Regions from separate parts of the Homo sapiens genome. Here region 1 is linked to region 2. The links are contacts of gene promoters, found by promoter capture Hi-C in human tissues and cell types (Jung and others, 2019). All regions are on one chromosome and are shown on one strand. Each heading gives the region's core, a stretch centred on a gene start or on the middle of the fragment in contact. The rest is flanking DNA. Distances are from core to core; before and after follow the strand shown. Region 1 overlaps TPM4 (tropomyosin 4). Region 2 holds the start of EPHX3 (epoxide hydrolase 3).

Region 1 (4,082 bases), core at 1,408-3,907, 860 kb after region 2:
GCTGGAGAGCAGTGGTGCAATCACGACTCACCGCAGCCTTGAACTCCTGGGCTCAAGCGATCCTCCTACCTCAGCAACATTGCAAAACCCCCACCTCCACAAAAAATTTTTTTTTAGTTTAGCTGGGTGCAGTGGTGCACACCTATAGTCCCAGCTACTCAGGAGGCCGAGGCAACAGGATTGCTTGAGCCTGAGAGGACAAGGCTGCCGTGAGCTCTCAGGGCACCACTGCACTCCAACCTGGGCAACAGAGTGAGACACCATCTCTCAAAATAAAAGAAAAAGAAAGGGGGCACAGACTCTGGAGTCAGACTGCCAAGGGCTGAGCCTCAGCTCTACCACTTACCAGCTCTGTAACCTTAAGTTACTTACCCTCTCTCTATGCCTTAGTTTCTTCATTTGTAAAATGTGGATAATTTACCTGCTCCATAGGGCAGTTGTGAAAGTGAAGGCACTTAGAAAAGTGCCTGGTAGTAAAGATGAAGGGAGGCTGGGCGCGGTGGCTCACACCTGTAATCCCAGCACTCTGGGAGGTCAAGGCGGGCAGATCACTTGAGGTCAGGAGTTCCAGACCAGCCTGGCCAACATGGCGAAACCCCCTCTCTACTAAAAATATAAAAGTTAGCCGGTCACGGTGGTGCATGCCTATAGTCCCGGCTATGCTGGAGGCTGAGACAGGAGAATTGCTTGAACCCAGGAGATGGAGGCTGCAGTGAGCTGAGATCACACTACTGCACTCCAGCCTGGGTGACAGAGCGAGACTCCATCTCAAAAAAAAAAAAAAAAACCAAGATGAAGGAAATGTGTGCACAGAGTTCCATCTTTGCAGTGTGTTACAGTGCTCAGTAGATTCAGAGACTCATTTAGATGAGAGATGGGACTAGGGGTGGTGTCTCACGCAATTAGCCAGACATGGTGACGGGTGCCTGTAATTCCAGCTACTCAGGAGGCTGAGGCAGGAGAATCGCTTGAACCCGGGAGGTGGAGGTTGCAGTGAGCTGAGATCGTGCCACTGCACTCCAGCCTGGATGACAGAGCGAGACTCCATCTGAAAGAAAAGATAGATGAGAGGTGGGTGGAGGGGTGTGAGTGAACGGCCGTCCTGATGAGATTGCTCCTTGCAGAGGAATGAAGGTGATAGAAAACCGGGCCATGAAGGATGAGGAGAAGATGGAGATTCAGGAGATGCAGCTCAAAGAGGCCAAGCACATTGCGGAAGAGGCTGACCGCAAATACGAGGAGGTGAGTGGGGCTGGCAGATGGCGCAGCAGCAGGAAGTGGGAGGAAATGCATCTGCTGAGATAGGGAGGACACCGGGGCCAACGAAAGGAAGCTCTCGGTTAGGTCAGCTGTCCTCCTGCGTGAACATATGTTTGTCCAGAGACAACCACTTGGCTAGGAAACTATCTCCCACGATGCCAGAAAGTGCTGCGGACGCTTGTCTAACGTAATGGGAAAACCGAATGATCAGCTCACTTGTGTCGTTAGCTGGGAGTTTTGGCACAGTTGGGCAAAAATGGAGGATTGTGGTCCCAAGCCATGGAGTTTCAGACCATGCAAGCTCAGGCCCTCCTTTGCCTCCCTCGATGGCTCGGCTCTTCCCTCCCGCCTCTTGTCTGCCTCGCTCCTCAGGCTTGAGGAAGAGAATCAGGATTTCCTCCAGGCCCCAGGATGGCTCTTTCAGTTGAAGCGCCAGCAAAAGGCCAGGCGCGGTGGCTCGTACCTGTAACCCCAGCACTTCGACCGAGGCGGGAGGATCACCTGAGGCCAGGAGTTTGAGACCAGCCTGGGCAACATAGTGAGACCCCATTTCTAAAAATAATAATAATAATAATTAGCTGGGTGTGGTGGCATGCACCTGTAGTCCCAGCTACTTGGGAGGCTGAGGCAGGAGGATCGCTTGAACCTGGGAAGTCAAGGCTGCAGTGAGCTCTGACCACGCCACTGCACTCCAGCCTTGGAGACAGAGCAAGACCCTCTGTCAAAAACATAAAAGGGCTGGGCATGGTGGCTCACGCCGGTAATCCCAGCACTTTGGGAGGCCAAGGCAGGCAGATCACCTGAGGTCAGGAGTTCATGACCAGCCTGGCCAACGTGGTGAAACCCTGTCTCTACAAAAAATACAAAAATTAGCCGGGCATGGTCGTGCATGCCTGTAAGCCCAGCTATTTGGAAGGCTGAGACAGGAGATTCACTTGAACCCAGGAGGCAGAGGTTGCAGTGAGTCAAGGTTGAGCCACTGCATTTCAGCCTGGGTGATGGAGCGAGACTCTGTCTCAAAAGAATAAAAAAATAAAAAAGAGGCCAGGTGTGGTGGCTCATGCCTATAATCCCAGCACTCTGGGAGGCCGAGGTAGGTGGATCAGGAGGTCAGGAATTCGAGACCAGCCTGGCCACTACGGTGAAACCCCATCTCGACTGAAAATACAAAAATTAGCTGGGCGTGGTGGCACGCGCCTGTAGTCCCAGCTACTTGGAAGGCTGAGGCAGGAGAATCGCTTGAACCCAGGAGGTGGAGGTTGCAGTGAGCCGAGACTGTGCCACTGCACTCCAGCCTGGGCAACAGAGGGAGACTCCGTCCCCCTGCAAAAAAAAGAAACACCAGAAAAACCCATGTTGCAGCTGGTCTAGGGGTCTGGGTGGGGCATCATTGGGGGCTGTCTGCAGTGGATGGGAGAGGACACGGCTGGTGGGGATCGGGCTCAGCTGGGCCTTTCTGTCTCTGCAGGTAGCTCGTAAGCTGGTCATCCTGGAGGGTGAGCTGGAGAGGGCAGAGGAGCGTGCGGAGGTGTCTGAACTGTGAGTGGCAGAACAGGACTGAGCGAGGCTGGCTCGATTCCTGGGGCGGAGTGGGAAGGAGCTGGCTGTGTTGGGAATTGGCTCTGACCGGGGTCTCTGCTCAAGTGGACGGGCGTCAGGGGCTCATGGCTCATCTTTTCTCTTGGCTTCTGTGACAAAGAGGTGGTGACTTGTTCTTACTGCCATGGGAAGCACTGCCCACGTGTTGACCCTTTCTGCAAAGATATGAGGAAATAGGAGTGAGACAGGAGGCAGCAGGGAAGCCCAGAAGTCCCATTTTCCCAGAGAGGATATCTCAGGGGGCTGTGCCATCTTAACAGAACACTGACCTGCTCCAGAAGGCAGGCTCCCCCGGTCAGTATGTAAATGCTTTTGCTCCTGTCAGTGTTTGGCCGTGACACATTCCTGGCGGGAAGGTGAGAAGCTTAACCAGAATCCCACAAGCAAGCACCGAAAAACAAAACACCTGTCCTCTTGGCCCCGGGTGAGGAATTCAGCCCCACAGAGCATCCGGGAGTGCTGAGAGAGATCTGGTTTCACAAATCCACTCCGGGCTTCCTTCCCGGAGTGTCCCCTGCAAACTCCCATTGCTCTCTGCCCGCCTTCTGCCCTCAGTCCCATTCTTACACCTTCCGGAGTCGGCCTCATCAATCATAGATTTCACAAGTCCTTGCAGCCTTACCCTTGGCAAAAGACCAGGAGTGTTTTCCAAGCCCTCCAAATACTCTTCGGGCGCACCTCGCCTCTGCCTGGTATGATAAGCCTTTGATAAGCCCATAGTATCACACTGCAGAAAAATCCATTAACATTTTCTCCCCACATTCCTTCTGCCCCCCACCGGGGGAGCTGTGTAGGTTTCTCCTTTGGAAAATTTATTGTTGGGGCGATTGCTATTATTGCCGGCTGTAAGGGAAGATAAGACACAAAAATCCTTTGTCTTTGTGCAGAAAATGTGGTGACCTGGAAGAAGAACTCAAGAATGTTACTAACAATCTGAAATCTCTGGAGGCTGCATCTGAAAAGGTAGGTGGTTGGCTTGAGCTGGAGGGTGGCTTGCTGGACTTTGTTCTTTTCTTCTCCCGAGGGATGCAGGAGCCTGTCAGGTTATGGGGAATCTGCCCTTTATTTAACAGTAGCGTTGGTGCCTGGCAGCCAGGGTTTTTCCCCTACAGAAAGAGCTGGATTTCTCCTGCACACTCTTGAGTCCTCTTCCATGGGGTCTGAGCACCATCTTTGATCTCCATCTCAGGAGGATAGAGATAGAACATGAGGCTCTTCTTAGC
Region 2 (4,624 bases), core at 1,102-3,601:
GTGTGCATATTCCTTGTTACTGTAAGTGCTATAAAAAAATGTGGATTACTCCTAAGTGTATTGTGATTTATTTTATTTTATTTTATTTTTGAGACAGAGTCTCACTCTGTCATCCAGGCTGGAGTGCAGTGGTGCGATCTTGGCTTACTGCAACCTCCACTTCTCAGGTTCAAGTGATTCTCTTGCCTCAGCCTCCCGAGTAGCTGAGACTACAAGCGTGCACTACCATGCCTGGCTGATTTTTTTGTATTTTTAGTAGAGACGGGGTTTCACCATGTTGGCCAGGCTGGTCTTGAACCCCTGGGCTCAAGCAATCCACCGGCTTTGGCCTCCCAAAGTGCAGGGATTACAGGCAGGAGCCACCACGCCTGGCCATACTTTATTTTATTTATTTATTTTTTGAGATGGAGTTTTGCTCTTGTTGCCTAGGCTGGAGTGCAATGGCATGATCTCAGCTCACTGCAACCTCCACCTCCCAGGTTCAAGAGATTCTCCTGCATCAGCCTCCCGAGTAGCTGGGATTACAGGCATGCACCACCAATGCCTGGCTAATTACATTTTTTTTTTTTTTTTGTAGAGACAGTTGGGGTCTTGCTATGTTGACCAGACTGGTCTTGAACTCCTGGCCTCAAGTGATCCTCCCACCTCAGCCTCCCGGAGGGCTGGGATTACAGGTGTGAGCCACTGGGTCTGGCGTGTCATTAATTTCCGAATGAGGAGTTCCACAACCGAAGGGACCTGGGTTGATTGCTGCACCCTCAGCCCCTGATGTGTTGACAGGTATACAGAGAATTGAAAACACAGACACATGTCCCTGCCCCCTTGCACATAAGTACATCCCAGTGTCCCGGACTCCCACACACACCTTGGTACACCGACATGGGGGCACCACTGACCACAACCATCCGCTCGACCAGGGATGGGTAGTAGATGGAGAAATGCCAGGCAAGGAGGGCACCCCAGTCATGGGCCACAAGGATGCACTTCGAGTAACCTGTGGGAATTCAAGGAGCTCGCATAAGTGAGGTGCCCAGTAGGACTGAAGCAGGGATGGGGGAAGTAGGTTCCAGCAAGGAGAAAGCGGGGGTATGCGTGTGTGCAGGATGAGGGAGGCCACGCCTAGGATGGGGGTATGTCTGCACCCAGGCCTAGGATGACATCTTTGATGTCCACCAGCAGCAGGTCGATTGTGTAGCAGTCCACATCCCGAGGTGCATCCGAGGGGCCATAGCCTCGCAAGTCCACAGCCACAACATGGAAGCGGCTCTGGAACTCCCGGAGCTGGTAACGCCAGGAGAACCTGCCAGGCGGGCGAGGGAGGGAGGCTGAGTCAGGGCCCTCAGGTTGCACCTGCACCCTACGCACATCAGCAACCATTGGCAAACCCTCCTTCCTGCTCTAAACTTCCCCTAAAAGGAGGATGGGGAATCCCAGGCAGAGGCAGAGGCTGAGGCTGAAGCCAGCTACACCCTGAATCCAGGGAACTTCAATCAACCTCAATACCCCTTTGTCCTGTCCCTTCAGGGCCTAGGGATCCTGGGTATGCTGGCTCAGTACCCCTATCCCCATCTATGTTCAGCTTGTCCCGATCTATACAGCCCTCCTCCCTGCCTCTTGGGAGCCCAAGCTCCACCTGCCCCCGAGTCCCGTGGGCCTCAGGCCCCTGGCCCCAGACGTACCAGTTCTCAGGGAAGCCGTGCAGAAACAGCATGAGGGGTCCGTTACCTCGTCCAGCCGAGACATAGTGCAGACGCAGGCCCGAGCTCTAGGGGGAGGGCACAGCCTGAAGCCTGGGGAACCCTCTCTCCCGAGGCTTGAACCGTCTCGACCCCACGCGACCCCGCAGCCCCGATAGCGCCCCCGTGCGATCACCTTGAGGTTCAGGAAACCGTGCTCACCCAGCGAGGGGTCGCTCAGGCAGGCGGGGGACGCGCTCCGACGGCGCCCGCAGCAGCCGCGCCGGGGCCGGCACAGCACGTGCGTGAGCGCTATGCAGCCGTAGACCGCCGCGGCCACCAGCGCCACCGAGAACACCAGGCTCCACATGAAGGCGCGCAGCAGCTTCAGCGACAGGCGCGACGGCGCCAGCAGCGCGGTCACCACCAGCTCCGGCATGTCGCCGCGCTCCGGGACCACGGCGGCGCTGCCGGCCAGGGGCACCTGCAGCAGCGGCGAAGCGGTGTCAGGGCTCAGGGGCCCATCGCCCTTGGCCTGGGGCCCCTCCGTGCCGTCGGGATTTGTGGGACGCGCTGAAGGAAGAGGCGGGCGGCTCCGACAGAAAACAGCCAGAGCGCACCACTCACCTGAGTGCCAGGTAAACACCTGGGCGCGACAGGGACAGGAAACAAGGGTAGGGTGCGGAGGCTGGGGAGGAAGAGGTTGGAAAGGGGGGAAATAAATGGGCGGGGCCTAGCAGGTCCTGTGCGGGGCTTAGGGCCGGGGCGGGGCCCAGGAAGACTCAGCAGCGGGTGGGTGAGGGTCTAAAGGCGGCAATTCCGGGCCGGGTGCGGTGGCTCACGCCTGTAATCCCAGCACTTTGGTAGGCCGAGGCGGGCGGATCACCTGAGATCAAGAGCTCGAGACCAGCCTGGGCAACGTGGTGAAACCCCGTCTCTACTAAAAATACAAAAATTAGCTGGGCGTGGTGGCGGGCGCCTGTAGTCCCAGCTACTTGGGAGGCTGAGGCAGGAGAATCGCTTGAACCCGGGACGTGGAGGTTGCAGTGAGCTGAGATCGCGCCACTGTACTCCAGCCTGGGTCACAACAGGGAAACTCCGTCTCAAAAAAGAAAAAAAAAAAAGGCAATTCCGAGCCCAGACAAACCTTAAGGAGGGGATCCTGGATCTTCAGTTAAGTGGGCGACACCTGGAGTGAGGGGCGGGGCATATGCAGAGTAGGTGCGGCCTACAAGCCAAAAAGGAGAAAGAGTTGGAATGGTGGGCCTGGCTTATGCGGGTGGGCGGGGAGAGGGTGGATCCTAGAGGAGGTGAGGCCTAACATTGGGCGAAGAAGGCGGGAGCCTGGGCCAATGAGCTGACGGTAGGCCGGGGAGGGGGCGGTGGGGTGGGGTGGGCAATGGGCAATGAGACGGAGGGCGGGGCCGGGACCTAATATGGCGGGTCAGGAGGGTCTGGAAGACGAAGAAGAGGGACAGGCAATGCCAGGTCTAGGACTAGGAGGGAGGCGCGGGCGGTATTAGCGGCTGGAGGAGGCTTCGGGAGGCCCGGCCGACGGCCGCCGCCTGGTGCTACCCACCCAGGGGCGCGCGACCCTCCCTTCGGTCTGGCTCCAAAGACCTAGCAGCACTGACTTCACCCAGCTGTGGTTCCAACGGCGGGTCCAGCGGCCTCGGCCCGGCGCCGTCCTCCTGCTGGCCCAACAGGCCCGCCAGCCCGCCCCTGTACGTCTGTGATTGGACGGCGGCGGCCACTGATGTTCAAGCGACAGGTCCTGGCCCGGGAGCCAATCTGCAGGTGTTGAGGCCCAGGCTCCGAGAGCGGGCCGAGGAGGCGTGGATACCCTGATTCCTAGGGGGCAGGCCTGGTTCCCCCGAGGAGGACCCGGCCTATGAATGACTGGAGTTCTGGGGTTCTGGCCGAAAGAGGAAGTGGGACAGGGCCGGGTGTGATGGGGCCTAGAGTCACAGAGCCTTGCGGCCCTGCTGTCCCTGCAAGAAGCCAGCTTCTGGCCAGGCGCGGTGGCTCACGCCTGTAATCCCAGCACTTTGGGAGGCCGAGGCGGGCGGATCACGAGGTCAGGAGATCGAGACCATCCTAACATGGTGAAACCCTGTCTCTACTAAAAATACAAAAAATTAGCCAGGCGTGGTGGCGGGCGCCTGTAGTCCCAGCTACTAGGGAGGCTGAGGCAGGAGAACGGCGTGAACCCAGGAGGCGGAGGTTGCAGTGAGCTGAGATTGCGCCACTGCACTCCAGCCAGGGCGACAGAGCGAGACTCCGTCTCAAAAAAAAAAAAAAAAGCAGCCAGCTTCTTCCTCCTATTTTGCAACCTTCTCCCGATATCCTTGAACATTTTAGGGACAGCCATCACTTAACCATAGAGCAACCCTATTAAGTCTAAGTAGCATAATCACATTCCTGTAGTATAGATCATGAACCTGAAATTCGAGGATGAAGTCATTTGCCTGAAGACATACATCTTGTAAAATAGCCATCCGCAAAGATGTAGGGAAAAAGGCAGCGATCTGTGGCTACACCTCCCCTTCCTCCCGGAAGCAGCCACTGGAACGTTTTTAGCTTTTTCTTTTTTTTTCAGATGGAGTTTCGATCATAGCTCACTGCAGCCTCGAACTCCTGGGCTCAAGCACTACAACCTGTAGTTGGGACTACAGGCCTGTGCCACCACACTCAGCTAATTTTTCAAAAACTTTTCAGAGAGACGACTTGCTATATTGTCCAGGCTGGTCTCAAACTCCTGGCCTCAAGCAATCCTCAAGCCTCCACCTCCCAAAGTGGGATTACAGATGCAAGCCACCGTGCCTGACCTTTATTTCTTGACTTAACCAATGTATGACATCAGCCACTGACTTGCTCACATCACTACCCCGGACGTGCCGTTTTTTGTTTCCCTGTTAGTTTCCTTTAAAAACACTCCACTTGTCACC

What was found. Contacts are between HindIII fragments. The study calls those that stand out against the background at their distance.
Region 1: a fragment that was not itself captured here is called in contact with the fragment with the promoter of EPHX3 in region 2 in 1 of the 25 tissues and cell types used here (dorsolateral prefrontal cortex).

What each region holds. Positions count from the first base shown.
Region 1 is chr19:16,085,299-16,089,380 of GRCh38, forward strand. TPM4 (tropomyosin 4) reads left to right here. Exons shown (of 8, transcript NM_003290.3): 3 at 1,125-1,242; 4 at 2,729-2,799; 5 at 3,747-3,822. Among named protein-coding and RNA genes, the nearest start is that of TPM4, 11 kb to the left of the region's middle. RefSeq lists an enhancer at 1,190-1,239. The HindIII fragment of the contact is 7,259 bases long and covers 1-4,082 here.
Region 2 is chr19:15,230,097-15,234,720 of GRCh38, forward strand. It overlaps EPHX3 (epoxide hydrolase 3), which reads right to left and starts at 2,352. Exons shown (of 7, transcript NM_024794.3): 1 at 1,873-2,352; 2 at 1,680-1,765; 3 at 1,143-1,300; 4 at 866-994. The coding sequence starts at 2,115. RefSeq lists an enhancer at 2,102-2,603 and a silencer at 2,942-3,101. The HindIII fragment of the contact is 16,546 bases long and covers 1-4,624 here.